Regions from separate parts of the Homo sapiens genome. Here regions 1, 2, 3 and 5 are each linked to region 4. The links are contacts of gene promoters, found by promoter capture Hi-C in human tissues and cell types (Jung and others, 2019). All regions are on one chromosome and are shown on one strand. The core of a region is centred on a gene start or on the middle of the fragment in contact, and the rest is flanking DNA. Distances in the headings are between cores, read along the strand shown.

Region 1 (2,700 bases), core at 135-2,634, 330 kb after region 4:
TCAGTGTCTCGGCGTTGCTGGGTAGACCCTGGTGGGGTGACAACAGGATCTGAGTGTTTGGACTCCATTCTCTCTGCTTCCTCTGTCCACGTTTTAGGGATGCCCTATTCAATGAGCCCTCTCTCTCTCTTCCTTTTTTTTTTTTTCTTTTTCTAGCAGTGTTTCCAGGGAAGGGCTCATATTCCCCACACTAGGGGCTGAGAGGGTGGATGCTTCTGGGTAAATCATTTGAAAATCAAGCAGATCCAACACCTTTGCTGTCTCTGATTAGAGTGAGCTCGCTGGGAGGGGCCCCCAAAGGGCCCCTGAATGGCTACGTGCTGCATGGCGTTAGGAGTGAGGGGCATGACCCTGACACCGGGAGGGCAGGCGTGTGAGCAAGTGCAGCCTACGGGGAGGCAATTTAACCACAGCCCCGGCACTGACAACGGCAAATCCTCTTGCGCAGCAGTTCTCCTCCGAGGATTCTTCCTGAGTGAGGCACTGGCATAGGGGCACAAAGGCATATATGTGCCAAAGGCATGACCCACGCCATGCGTTGATTACAGCAGAGACTGAGAGCAGCCTCATGCCTGTTGGTGGAGAGGAGTGGAGAAGGACAGCCTACTCCCCATGCACTGAGAGCTCTTGTGCAGTCAGCAAAAAGCGTGGTGGCTCCATCCATGTGGACACAGAACAGCTTTCAAGAGAAATAAGAAGGGCTGGAAGTGGCAGCTCACGCCTGTAATTCCAGCACTTTGGGAGGCTGAGGCGGGCAGATCACCTGAGGTCAGGAGTTAGAGACAAGCCCAGCCAACGTGACAAAACCCTGTCTCTACTAAAAATACAAAAATTAGCTGGGTGTGGTGATGGGCACCTGTAATCCCAGCTACTTGGGTGGCTGAGACACGAGAATTGCTTGAACCCGGGAGGTGGAGGTTTGCAGTGAGCCGAGCTTGTGCCACTGCACTCCAGCCTGGAAGGCAGAACAAGACTCTGTCTCAAAAACAAAAAAAAAAAAAAGAGACAGAGAGAGAAATAAGAAGAACCAGAGGCACCCAGCGCATGGGCTGCTACTGTCTGTGTAGGAGGCCGAGTAATGTATCACACATGCACACCTAAGTGTGCATACACATATGTGTGCACGAGCACATATGCACACACATAGCTAGAAAAAGGGGCTCTGGGACCCTGAAGATTTGGGGTGGAAGGAAGCTTACTTTTCAGGACATCCTTTCCTGTACTGTTTGGTTGTGGTTGTTTAACCATTTGTGTATGTTAATTTTTCAATTAAAAATAGTTGAGCAAGGTGTGGTAGCATGCACCTGTCATCCTAGCTACTCAAGAAGCTGAGGTGGGAGGACTGCTTGAGCCCAGGGGCTTGGGTCTAGCCTGGGCAACATAGCCAGACCCCATCTCCAAAAAGAGTTTTAAAAATAGGTGAGTGGAAGTTTGGAGAAGAAGGAAGGAAGAGGAAAGGAGGCAGGAGGAAGAGAGAGAAAGGTGTACCCCGCACCGCGGAGGCAGCAGGTCCTCACCTGAATCTGTCTCCCCGTTTCCCAGCTGCGTGGCTGTGGACAAGTCACTCGGCCTCCCTGCGACACCACTTTCCTGCCTGTGAAATGGACTCACGGATAAACCAATCTCACCAAGTTGTTGCCAGGATCAAATAAGTCAAAAATGAGAAAGGATTTAGGAAACTGCAACGGGCATTTTCCCTTGAAAATGGCCCCTGGCTCTTGCACACGCACGTGTGCCAAACAGCTCAGATAATGATTTTCATTTATTCTAATCCTCAGGCTGCCTGAGCTGGGCTTCAGGGGTACGCTGTGGGAAGATCTGAGCACACAGGCCCCGCCGGGGTTCAGATCTGGAGACCCAGCAAGGGCTAATAAAACACAAACTAAATATTCCTCTGGCCTCCCCCACGGAGTGTTTTTCTCTGATTCCGGATCGGCCCTTGGGCTGTTAGAAAACATCTTCTGGGGACAAAGGGCAAGCGGTGAATTTGTGTCCCCTACAGAGAGGAGGGCTGGAGTTGTGGTTCTCTAAGAAGCCACGTGAACCAGAAGCAGCTCTCAGGGGCGGCGGCGTCTGCCCTCAGCCACGCTGGAGTCCACCCCAACTGGCAAGTGGAGAAAAGGAAGGAAAAAATGAGTCAAAAGGAATGGGAAACTGTGTTGCTCACATTTATGAAATGAATGTAGGTCTCCAACATATGCTCTGGCCTGGAGCATTGCTGTCTCTGCGTTAGTAGCTGGGCATGGCTGTGTTGACAGTGGCGGAGGAGAACTCACAGCAGTGGTGAACGTCAAATGTCAAATGTCATTAGAAACCAAGAAGGGGGCAGATTTAAAAAGAAAAAAAGCAGGGAATGCATTCCACCTTTAAACAGAAGGCTTGGGCAGGGTATGAAGCTCGAATCTCATACTTCAAAATGTTTTTGCATCTTGAGGAAACCGTACAGGAACTTGACTGTGAGGAGCTATAGGGCTGCCTGGTCATTTGGATGTGGCCATGTTCACATAAACACTCAGTGCTCGTCAGCTGGAGTTTTGGATTCAGGGAGATGGAAACAATTTAGACTTGGGGGTGTTTGAGGTCAGCGGTTATAAGTGAGTCTCAGGGTTTTTCCCACAGTTGATGAAAACAGTTTCTTTGACATCAAAAATACATATCTATTTTGAAACAGGGTCTTGCTCTGTCCCCCAGGCTGGAGTG
Region 2 (2,700 bases), core at 126-2,625, 480 kb after region 4:
CAATAAGCCTAGACACTACAGTAAAGAGTTCATTAAGGTGACTAACAAGAAAACTACTAACAAAAAAGGCACGTGTAAGTCTTGCTAACCAACGGACTGCCTCAAGAGGCTGTCTGAAAAGATATGCTTGGCAAGCTAAGGTCCATTTTAATTTGCTTAAGTTTCTCAGGCATAAGAAAAAAAATAATGGTCAATGAGACCTGCAAAACTATATCCAAACTCAAATGAATGCTAAACTCTTTCTAGACTCCGGGAAACTAGGCAAAAGCAGACAAACAGCACCACTGTGTGGGCTCCTGACGAGGATGGCGGCAGGCATTCGCAGTCCACCGCGATGAACACGGTGCTTCCCTTCCAAACCGGTGTCTGGAACTTAGGCAACAACAGATACCTGGATCTGCGGCGTTCTCTTGCTCAAGCGGGAAATAATCACTTCGCATCATCTGCGTGGAGTAAATATTGTGATGGTGACACCTGCACGTTTAACCAAATGCCAGCACACCTAAGCTGGGTTTCCAGTCTGAACCGGCAGAAAAGGGATGTATTCGGTATTCCTGGTGCCAAGGTGAGAACGTAATCGCAAACCCAAGAGAAGTCTCCCACCCCAGCTCCTGGGCTACAGACAGGAACTGGCAACACCGCTGTGGGCCGTCCCGGGCGCGGCGAGGCCGGGGCCCAGCACATTCCCCTCCTCTCGACCGAGGCACTGAGGTCTGTAAGAGGCACTCGCACCCGGGCGGGCTCCCTCGACGGGAAAACCAGCCCTGAAGGTGACGCGCTGGGTCCCGGCGCAGCCCCGCTTCAGAGCCGAACGGCCCAGCGCGGCCCCGGGGGCTGTTGGGCCCCAGAAGCGCGACCCTCGCCCGCAGCGCGCTTGCGGGGGCGGCGGTGGCCGGGGTACGGCAGGCACCCCGCCGCGGAGGGCGCGGGGTGATTCAGCAGGCCCGGGGCCCCGAGCGCACCGGCCCCCGCCCGCCCTCCGCCGGCTGCCTCCTCCCAGGCCTCCGAGAGGTCCGCAGGCCGCCCCGGCCCAGACCAGCCCCTGGCCCTCCCGGCTCGGTCCCGGCCTGGGTCCCTCACGGGGCCCCGGGCCCCGCATCCCTCGGCCCCGCCGGCCGGCAGCCACCGGCCCCGCTCGGCCTCCCGGCTCGGCCCCGACCCCTCACGGCGTCCCAGGCCCTGCCGCCCTCCACAGCTCGGACCCCGGCCCCGCCGCACCCGCCGCCCTCGCGGCGACACTCACCGAAGGTGCGGCGCTGCTTGAAGGTCTTCTCCGACGGCATGGTGCAGGGATCTGGGCGGCGGCGGCGGCGACGACGCGAGGGTCCCGGCGGCTCCCGGGGGCGGCGGCTGCTGCGGCGGCGAATCCGACTCTGGCGATAGCCACTTCCCTTGTATCTCCTCAGCCCGCAGCCTGGTCAGGTGACTCGCGACGCGTCACCGAGGGGCGGGGCCAGAGCCGGCCGGGGCCGCCGCCATGACGGGCGTGGCGGAACCCAGCAGCGGCACGCAGCGTGGGGGCGGAGCAGGTGTGTGCGCGTGCGCGATGGGCGAAACGCGCGCTCTGCGCATGCTCCCGGTCGTGCCCCAGCCCCGCCCAGCACCGCTGGGCGCCTGAGGCCCCTGAGGTGACGGTTGTGGGCTGGGCCGCACCCCGGGTCTGTGGGCGCTCGGGAGCCTGCTGCCCGGCCCTGAGGAGATGGCAGCGCGGGGCGGGGGAGGCTGAGCCACAGGCGGGGTGTCCCGGGGCACTCTTGAGGGAGGGGTCAGAGGAAGGGACATGGGGCAAATCCGACCATCCTTTCCCCTCCAGAGAGACTTGGTGGTGCTGCCCGAGACGCCGGCACCCGGGGCTGAGGCGCGCAGGGCAGGCCGCGCCGTCTCCGGGAGGCAGGGTCGCCGCTCGCCCGTGGAGCCCTGGCCCCCTCTGCGTGCAGGGGCGCGCGTGGTCCGTGGGTGGCTTCCGGGGAGTGGCCGCTGGTGACCTCCGCCCGCGGTCACTCGACGCCCAGCCTTGGCGCGTTTGCGCAACTGCTTTTGTCCCGAGCCTTCATTCTGGGCGCAGTCCCCTCTCCCAGTCCCCCTGCCGCGGCGCCTGGAACTCTCCTGGTGGCTGTAAGATTTTCCTACCGTTAGGTCGTCTGTGGCGACTGCCAGGCCTGCCCCACATCGCTAGCCGCCCTGTCTACCCCTCAGCCTCCCAGCCACTAAACTCGCTGGACAACCTTACGCTAGTGACAGTTTTTGAGTCTCAGACTCATCTGTGAAAGGGCAGTCATATTTGAGGACTCCAAATGGGCTGCAGTGCGTAAACCACCATGCGATATTTGGTTGCTATTGCCCACCTCAGCCTGTGGCCAATGTGTCTCTGTAGGAACAGCACTAGATTCTTTGGGGTTTTTTTGAGACAGGGTCTTGCTCTGTTGCCCAGCCTGGAATGCAGTGGCACGATCATAGCTCGCGGCGGCCTCGGTCGCCTGGGCTCAAGGGATCCTCCTGCCTCAGCCTCCCGAGAAGCTGGGAGTAGAGCCGGGATCTCGCTGTGTTGCCCGGGCTGGTCTTGAACTCCTGGCCTCAAGCAACCCTCCCGCCTCGGCCTCCTTAAGAGTTGGGATTACAGGCGTGAGCCACTGCTCCCGGCTATTTGGCTGTTTTTGTTCTTTAACATCTAATACTTTGAAAGAGCCCCATAGTTCCAGG
Region 3 (2,700 bases), core at 27-2,526, 300 kb after region 4:
TGGATAATATGTGGATCCTAATTTTAAGAAATCACATAAAAACATCACTGGGGGCTGGGTGCCATAGTTCACGCAGAGGCGGGAGGATCGCTTGAAGCCAGGAGTTCAAGACAGTAACATAGTGAGACTCCATCTCTACAAAAAAAATTAAGAATTAGCCCAGTGTAGTGGCACGCACCTGTGGTCCCATCTACTTGAGAGGCTGAGGTGGGAGGATTCACTTGAGCCTGGGAGTTTGAGGCTGCAGTGAGCTATGAATGCACCACTGTACTCCAGCCTGTGTGACAGAGTGAGACACTGTCTCAAAATAAAATAAAATAAAAATAAAAAATAGGTCGGGCATGGTGGCTCACACCTGTAATCCCAGCACTTTGGGAGGCCAAGACAGGCGGATCACCTGAGATCAGGAGTTCGACACCAACCTGGCCAACGTGGTGAATCCCTGTCTCTACTAAAAATGCAAAAATCAGCCAGGCATGGTGGCAGGCACCTGTAATCCCAGCTACTCAGGAGGGTGAGGCAGGAGAATCACTTGAACCCTGCGGAGGTTGCAGTGAGCCAAGATCACGCCACTGCACTCCAGCCTGGGCAAGAGAGCGAGACTGTCTCAAAAAAAAAAAAAAAAGACTGAGGACAGGTCTCACACTATGTTCTTACCACAAATAATGGGGACATGGGGAGTGTTCTGGAGGTGCCGGATGTGTTGATTTCCCTGATCATGGTGTTGGTATCACGGCTGTTTGCCGATGTCCAAACTCATCAAATTACGCATTAAATATGTGCAGATTTTTTTTTAAGACAGAGTCTTGCTCTGTTGCCCAGGCTGGAGTGCAGTGGCATGATCTTGGCTCACTGCAACCTCCACTTCCCAGGCTCAAGCAATTCTCATGCCTCAACCTCCTGAGTAGCTGGGATCACAGGTGCGTGCCATCGCGCCTGGCTAATTTTTGTATTTTTTTGTAGATACAGGGTTTCGCTATGTTGGCCAGGCTGTTCTTGAACTCCTGATCTCAAGTGATCCACCCACCTTGGCCTCTCAAAGTGCTGGGATTACAGGCCTGAGTCACTGTAGCTGGCCAGATTTCAATATATTAATTATATCTCAATAAAGCTTTTAAAAAAAAAAGCAGTGGCTGAGCAAAAAAAAAAAATTTAAAGCATTCGTCCATCCCCAAGGGTGCATCTCCCAGCTGGTAGTGTTCAACCCAACAGATCAACCTCCTTCTTTTTTTTTTTTTGAGATGGAGTCTCGCTCTGTCACCCAGGCTGGAGTGCAGTGGCGCTATCTCGGCTCACTGCAAGCTCCGCCTCCCGGGTTCACGACATTCTCCTGCCTCAGCCTCCCAAGTAGCTGGGACTACAGGCGCCCGCCACCACGCCCGGCTAATTTTTTATATTTTTAGTAGAGACGGGGTCAACCTCCTTCTTTACAGCAAATAACTTTACATGTCCATTGCTATCCTGAAATGAAATGCATGGAAACCTACAAAACACCTTCTTCAACTCCACATAATGCCCCAACTGTAATACGCAGCTGATGAGAAAGGAACAAACATAAATATAAAATAATGGGGTTTCCATGCCTCCCCGGGGAAGAGAGAACAGGGCTGTCATCTGCTTGCCACGGTGGCCCACAGTGGGCATGACAGCAAACGGCGGCACCCAGCCCCAGTGCAGCACCTGGAGCACTCACCTACCTTACCCCACTTGGCCACTGGGGATGTGGTTTTCCAAAGTGTGAAAAGCTCTGTTCTGAATCAAAGTTCTGAACACAATGCAATCTCCCCTCCATCGGCAAAATCCTTGCATTCCTGGTAACAGATGGAGTAAAACTGTGCAGTGCATGTTTGTGTGTACAATGAAGTTTGGTCCTAGATACACATGGTTCTGGACAGCTTTCTCACCTGAGTGAACATCCTAGAGGCAGGACCTGGCTGAAGGTCAGGGGGCAGGTGCGCCAGAGACTGCAGAGAACCAGGTGGGCCAGCTTCTCAGGGGCATCTTCCTGGGGAGGGGAGTGTGGGTGGGAACCAGAAGCGTTGGGCAGACCCCAGCCCAGGCAGCAGGGCCATGCCAGGGGGCTACACCTGTAACAGGAGCGAGGGCAGAGCTCTGGAACAGGACTTCGGGTTAAGTCCCAGCTCCAGCACCTGCACCTGTGGGACCTCAGAGAGACACTCAGCCTCTCTGAGCTTGTTTCCTTATTCGAAAAGCATAGCTTCCAAGAATCTCATTTCCAGGCCTCCCTGTGAAGTTTGCATGTGCTCTTGCCTGTGCCTTACTTACAGGCCGTGCGCTGTCCATGAGCCCCAGTGGGGTTGTGGTTATTGCTCGTAGGAGGCCGTGGGCAAGGCCAGAAGCCTGGAGGCCCTGTGAGGATCACGGCCTCATGAATCAGGTAGGAAGCTGCTGGAGAGAGAGATCTCAGAGTGTAAGGTGCACAAATATAGAACTGAAGGCATCGGCCGGGTGCGGTGGCTCACGCTTATAATCCCAACACTTTGGGAGGCTGAGGCAGGCGGATCACTTGAGGTTAGGAGTTCAAAACCAGACTGGCCAACATGGTGAAACCCCCGTCTCTACTAAAAATACAAAAATTAGCCAGGCGTGGTGGCAGGCGCCTGTAATCCCAGCTACTCGAGAGGCTGAGGCAGGAGAATTGCTTGAACCCGGAAGGCGGAGGCTGCAGGGAGCCGAGCC
Region 4 (2,700 bases), core at 148-2,647:
TCGCTCGGTTTTATCACCGCAGAGGAATGCCCGACATACCGGGGGGCGAGCAAGGTCCAGAATGACAAGCCCTGGCATTCCTCAGCCGCCCCCTCCCTGGGGTGGGGCCTGGACATTCCTGGCTGCAGCTAGAGGTCCCAGCACGACAGGGATTCTGACCCCCCTCCACCACGGCTATTGTTCAGAATTCTGTGGATTCCAGAGGCATCTGCCCAGCAGACTGTCTTGCTGTGAACACCCAGCTCTGCAACCGGTGTTTGCGTGTTTGCCCTGGGAGGCTGAACGCTCACCCAGAACAAAGGCCTCCCCACATGCCTGCTGTGAGCTTCCAAGGACTCGTTTGCACACACGCCAAGGAACCCCGGGGTGGGGTGATACTGAGGAGCTTCCTCCCTGACCCACACACACCCTTTGAACAGGTCTTTGGCCGCTCACCAGTCTGGTCAATCTCGGGGCAGTATTTATATTCCTTCCCATTTCCAGGCCTAGGAGCCTTGGCATCCTGCTCTCGCCTCTAACTGAAATTACCTCTCAACCCTTTTTAGCTAAGATGCCTCTCGCATTCCCTAGGAATAACAAGCTTTAAAGCCCCTTCACACTGAAGCCTGCCTTTGAATTCCCCAGGTAGATTTGGGGGTGGGGGTCTTATGGCTCCCAGCGAACCCCCGGTTCTGTTGATTAAATTGAGCTCAGGCAGATTGCTGGCTTCCCAAAGCCTGTGTTATTACTGCTTCTCAAAGCTACGGGCACCGGATCGCCGTCTTTGGCAAGATTCTTTTGGGATACAATGGGAATTACTGGGTGGCCTCGGTTCGGTTCTTCCCTCGTCCCAGTTCGCGGCTCACCAGCCCCACTGATGCAGCCCCCAGGCTGGAAGGAGGCTGCAGGAGCTTCCCCTCAGGTCATCCTCTCATCCCTCCCCCGTGCCCCAGGAGCTGGTTGTGGGGGCGGTTCCATCCCCTCGGCCCATCCGGGACAGGAGCCTAGGTTCCCTTCGGGGGGTACCCCAAACTCCATCCTTGGCCTCAGGCCAGCCCTGGTGCACTGCCCGCTCCCAGGCTTGACGAGAGGCTGCGGGCCAGTGGGTGAAGGGGCGCGCCCTGACTGCCAGGCCCCGCCCAGGCGCATCCGGGAGGACGGGCTGGGATGACGCGGGCGCCGGGAGGGGGGAGGTCGCGAGGCCGGGGTCTCCATGGCGCAGGAGGACTGGGGCCTTCGAGGACCACGCGGGCCTGGGAATAGCCCGCCAGGCTGGGCCGGACGACGCACGTGCTCCGAGCTGGGCCGAGGGGGCGGGGCTGAGGGACGGGGCCGGGCCACGGGGCGGGGAGGAGCCGCGGACGGTGGGCGGGGCCGGCGGGCCGGGGCCTAAAAGGCGGCGCGGGCGGGGTTCCTGACGCAGCTGCGGGCGGCGGGCGGCGCGCACACTGCTCGCTGGGCCGCGGCTCCCGGGTGTCCCAGGCCCGGCCGGTGCGCAGAGCATGGCGGGTGCGGGCCCGAAGCGGCGCGCGCTAGCGGCGCCGGCGGCCGAGGAGAAGGAAGAGGCGCGGGAGAAGATGCTGGCCGCCAAGAGCGCGGACGGCTCGGCGCCGGCAGGCGAGGGCGAGGGCGTGACCCTGCAGCGGAACATCACGCTGCTCAACGGCGTGGCCATCATCGTGGGGACCATTATCGGCTCGGGCATCTTCGTGACGCCCACGGGCGTGCTCAAGGAGGCAGGCTCGCCGGGGCTGGCGCTGGTGGTGTGGGCCGCGTGCGGCGTCTTCTCCATCGTGGGCGCGCTCTGCTACGCGGAGCTCGGCACCACCATCTCCAAATCGGGCGGCGACTACGCCTACATGCTGGAGGTCTACGGCTCGCTGCCCGCCTTCCTCAAGCTCTGGATCGAGCTGCTCATCATCCGGCCTTCATCGCAGTACATCGTGGCCCTGGTCTTCGCCACCTACCTGCTCAAGCCGCTCTTCCCCACCTGCCCGGTGCCCGAGGAGGCAGCCAAGCTCGTGGCCTGCCTCTGCGTGCGTGAGTACGGGGCGCGGGCCGGGGGTTGGGAGGTCGTAGTCTCTGGGTCCCTGCATCCTTGCATCACTACGCCCCTGGCTCCCACATCTCTACATCTTTACGTTCCTGGACCATCCCGGCAGTTCTAGGCTAAGGTCATTGGTCCCAGAAACCACGTGCGTTTCTTTCATTCATTCTTTTACACTTCTCCCCACAGGCTGGGAATATCTTCAGTGACGGGACAGCAGGGTCCCTGCCCTGCCCTTCGGTGGGCATTCCATTCCCCCACTTAAGCGGTTTAGGCAAGTGCCACCCTCCCGTTGGCCCCGCTGAGCAATACTCCCAGCCTCTTGCGTGGCACCCACGTGGAGTAACTGAGCAATCGGTTTACTGTTAGAGCTCCGATTGCTGACTGGTTGGTGAGAAGGAAATTGCAGTTAAAAAAAAAATCATTCATTTCTGCTCTCCACACCAGCTCGTCAGGAATCAGTGACACGGGCTGACTCATAAGAAAACAGTAGTAATAACATCGTGTGCGGGTAGTGACTGGTGCTGATTTAGGCTAAGGGATCCCCCCTGAGGGTTCCCAGTAGTGAGAGAGCGGAGCTTGGCTGCAGATTCAGTCTGTGTTGCAGTGAATGGACGTGCGGGTCCCAGGTTTCTCTGGGAAACAGCCATGGGGCTCCTGTTTTGGTGGGCATG
Region 5 (2,700 bases), core at 181-2,680, 460 kb after region 4:
CACGCCTGCTGACTCAGCAGGCCTGCAGGCAAGGTGGGTTGACAGGCGCTCTGCCATGCGGGCCCGGGTGGGCCTGTGCCTCCCTTCATAAAGCTGGCTGCATCTCCAGAGGCACGGGGCACTCACCAGCGCTCACCTGCCCTCACCCAGTGAAAGGACGCATGTTAGAGCAGCCCGCCTGACGTGTGCAGAGCCTGACTCCCAGAGGAAGCTCCCAAAGAAAAAGATGGTGAACTTTTCCTGAGTCATTTCACCCCGGTCAGATTTGATAAACTTGTAAAATTAGGTCCCATTTTGCAGGGGCAGGAAGGGAGTAGAAACGGTCAGGATGGGTGGCCTAGATTTCCAGCACCAGAATCTTGCCCAGTGGCTCTGGACATGACTGGACAGATTGGTGGTTGGTGGTGATTCTACAGTCATTCAAATTTGACCTCTTTTTTCCCCTCTCTCTAGGTACTTTTAGGTTGAAATACGCCCCTCCAGCAGAAAGTCTGGACTCCACAGATTGATATTTTTCTCTGGCAACAGAACGTTATTAAGCCATGGAGACATAAGGAAAATTAAATACAAAACTGAGAAGTCTAGTTGCTGTTGAGCTTAATCTTTTTAATCCAAAGGTGCTTTACTTTTCCTAGACTGGATAGAAAATCTAGCGTAGAAGTGCATCAAACTCGATTTATTGCCAAAACCCTAGATTGGAGCTTGGTGTCAGAACTCGCCTAGTGGGCATCTCTGTGGCTGGTGAGATCGGCCACCTCCACTTTTGGTTGCAGTGCAGAGACGCCATGTCTCCCGAAGAGCATTGCCATCACTGGCCCTCCTAGGCTCACACGTCAATTCCAGGGCAGCTACACGTGGTCTGAATCGAGAACCGAGCTTGGAGTTCTCCAAGTGGAGTTCCACCCGCCGGACTCCTGACACCCCTGGGCTAGGGAAAATGTCGACTTTGTTTTGTTCTGTTCCTAAAGTGATTAGCACTAATCTCTGGGATTTTTAAGGATTGCACTACAGAAGAATGTACCCTGATGTAAATCTCTGCGGTTCTGGGAGCCAAACTCCTCTGAGAACAGTCAGTGCAAGAGACTCCAATAATCCATATTGAAAGAGTCAGCACCAGCAGAGGCTACTCGACTTAGGACGCAACAGAGGTTTTAGTATTTCCTTCCCTCCTCCAAGCACTTGTAGCAGTTTCAGGTTTTTAATTTTTTTCTGCAAATAAATCTAAACTACGTTATTAAATAGAAATAGTTTACTCGCAACAACTTAATTTCTAAGGGTCCAAGTCCCAGAGAATCCATAGTCGTCAAAGCTTTGAGAGTATCTTTCTTCCCAGCCAGTCAGTGGCTTTGAGCCCTATCTTCCACTACAAATGACCTCTCGAGGGGGGACGGCGACAGCGCGGCTCTGTGAGTGGCTGTGAGGATGCTGCACGTCCTCAGCAGAGTTTGCAAGTTGCTTTATCTCCCACGGGCTCCCCAAGAACCTCCAACCCCGAGGCTTATCGCTAGCGGATTCACACCTGAGACAGACATTTCAACAATGATACAGTCCTGTCATTTATCAGCAAAAGATTGGGAATTTTCTCCTGTCAACTTCTTTTGTATTAGGCTGTGTATTGATAGTTAATTCCGTTAAAAATTACTTGGAAAACAGTGGGAAGTGGTAGGACTCTGGAAGAGGCCACACACCCGAGAGCTGCGAGATCTGTGCAAGTCTGGTTTTGGTTAGGTAGTAATAAAAGTCCTCACTGTAGATCTCTAAATTTCAACCCACGGAAATGAAAGCCTTTTGTCTGAAATTTACGGACTTAAATCTTCAAGGTTAAAGGGAATTTTCTGCTCAAATAATACTCTTATCGAAAATGCTAAAGTCTTCAATGTTAAAATACTGATTGGTAAAATCTTGCAGTTGGGATTTTGCAGTTGGATATTTATTTTAAAAAAAATTATAATATTCAGACTATTCTTAAAATGGGACAATCAGCCTCATGAAAAATTGATGTAAATCAGAAGAATACCCTAGAATGAGGCCTTGTGATGTGAGCGTTCAATTTGAAGAGCAGTTCCTAACTTCATAGAAACTAAAGCAGAAAGTTGTTACATTTTTTTTATGACAGGCTTTTAGTAGAATTTTTTAGTTTTATTTTAGTTGAATTTTATTTCTATGCAATGCAGAATTAACAGACCTCTTCTCCTCATGGTACACAGTATTACAGTGTTGAAGTAATGGTGATGCTTATTACAACAGCTATTTAGGGGAATGTTACGTTGATCTCTTAAATTGTAAACACTACAAAATGTCAAAATAATGAGAACTGACACAACTTTGCCTTAAAGAGTACTAGACTGGACCTTCTCATATTACGTTTAAGGAAGACTTAGAGTGTTCATTGATGTTTACGATTTTAATATTTCTGAAGGCCATTACAGTGGCCTGGATATGTGCTGAAAGCCAAACTTTTAAATTTTTTGGTTTTTTTAAGCAAAGAAATATTTTAAATAAATCCTATTTCAACACTGAAATTGTTGAAAACCGTCTCATAACAAAAGGAAAAAACATTGGAATTTTTGTTTTAGTGGTCAGTATAGGGGAATGAAAGCGTCTGTTGTTACCCACGTAACTATTTTGATAAGTATTAGAGGTTAACCTTAAATCCAGCAAAACATTAAAACAGAAACTTTTCAACTTGGAGCCTGCCAT

What was found. Contacts are between HindIII fragments. The study calls those that stand out against the background at their distance.
Region 1: a fragment that was not itself captured here is called in contact with the fragment with the promoter of SLC7A5 in region 4 in 1 of the 25 tissues and cell types used here (dorsolateral prefrontal cortex).
Region 2: the fragment with the promoter of MAP1LC3B here is called in contact with the fragment with the promoter of SLC7A5 in region 4 in 2 of the 25 tissues and cell types used here (lymphoblastoid cells and small bowel).
Region 3: a fragment that was not itself captured here is called in contact with the fragment with the promoter of SLC7A5 in region 4 in 1 of the 25 tissues and cell types used here (dorsolateral prefrontal cortex).
Region 5: a contact is called between a fragment that was not itself captured here and the fragment with the promoter of SLC7A5 in region 4, in 1 of the 25 tissues and cell types used here (dorsolateral prefrontal cortex).

Annotation. Positions count from the first base shown.
Region 1 is chr16:87,538,169-87,540,868 of GRCh38, reverse strand. It overlaps LOC124903748 (a long non-coding RNA gene), which reads right to left and starts at 1,967. Exons shown (of 2, transcript XR_007065170.1): 1 at 1,518-1,967. RefSeq lists a silencer at 649-880. The HindIII fragment of the contact is 3,179 bases long and covers 1-2,700 here.
Region 2 is chr16:87,391,011-87,393,710 of GRCh38, reverse strand. It overlaps MAP1LC3B (microtubule associated protein 1 light chain 3 beta), which reads right to left and starts at 1,375. Exons shown (of 4, transcript NM_022818.5): 1 at 1,244-1,375. The coding sequence starts at 1,283. It also overlaps a transcript of FBXO31 not described here. RefSeq lists enhancers at 193-242, 1,459-2,417 and silencers at 863-992, 1,103-1,272, 1,293-1,942. The HindIII fragment of the contact is 8,903 bases long and covers 1-2,700 here.
Region 3 is chr16:87,572,151-87,574,850 of GRCh38, reverse strand. No RefSeq gene overlaps it. Among named protein-coding and RNA genes, the nearest start is that of JPH3, 29 kb to the left of the region's middle. RefSeq lists an enhancer at 2,516-2,700. The HindIII fragment of the contact is 3,496 bases long and covers 1-2,700 here.
Region 4 is chr16:87,868,204-87,870,903 of GRCh38, reverse strand. It overlaps SLC7A5 (solute carrier family 7 member 5), which reads left to right and starts at 1,397. Exons shown (of 10, transcript NM_003486.7): 1 at 1,397-2,019. The coding sequence starts at 1,482. RefSeq lists enhancers at 1-83, 1-639, 84-843 and a silencer at 1,084-1,433. The HindIII fragment of the contact is 6,482 bases long and covers 1-2,700 here.
Region 5 is chr16:87,408,089-87,410,788 of GRCh38, reverse strand. It overlaps ZCCHC14 (zinc finger CCHC-type containing 14), which reads left to right. Exons shown (of 13, transcript NM_015144.3): 13 at 454-2,700. The coding sequence ends at 509. Among named protein-coding and RNA genes, the nearest start is that of MAP1LC3B, 17 kb to the right of the region's middle. RefSeq lists enhancers at 2,648-2,700, 2,408-2,700. The HindIII fragment of the contact is 7,604 bases long and covers 1-2,700 here.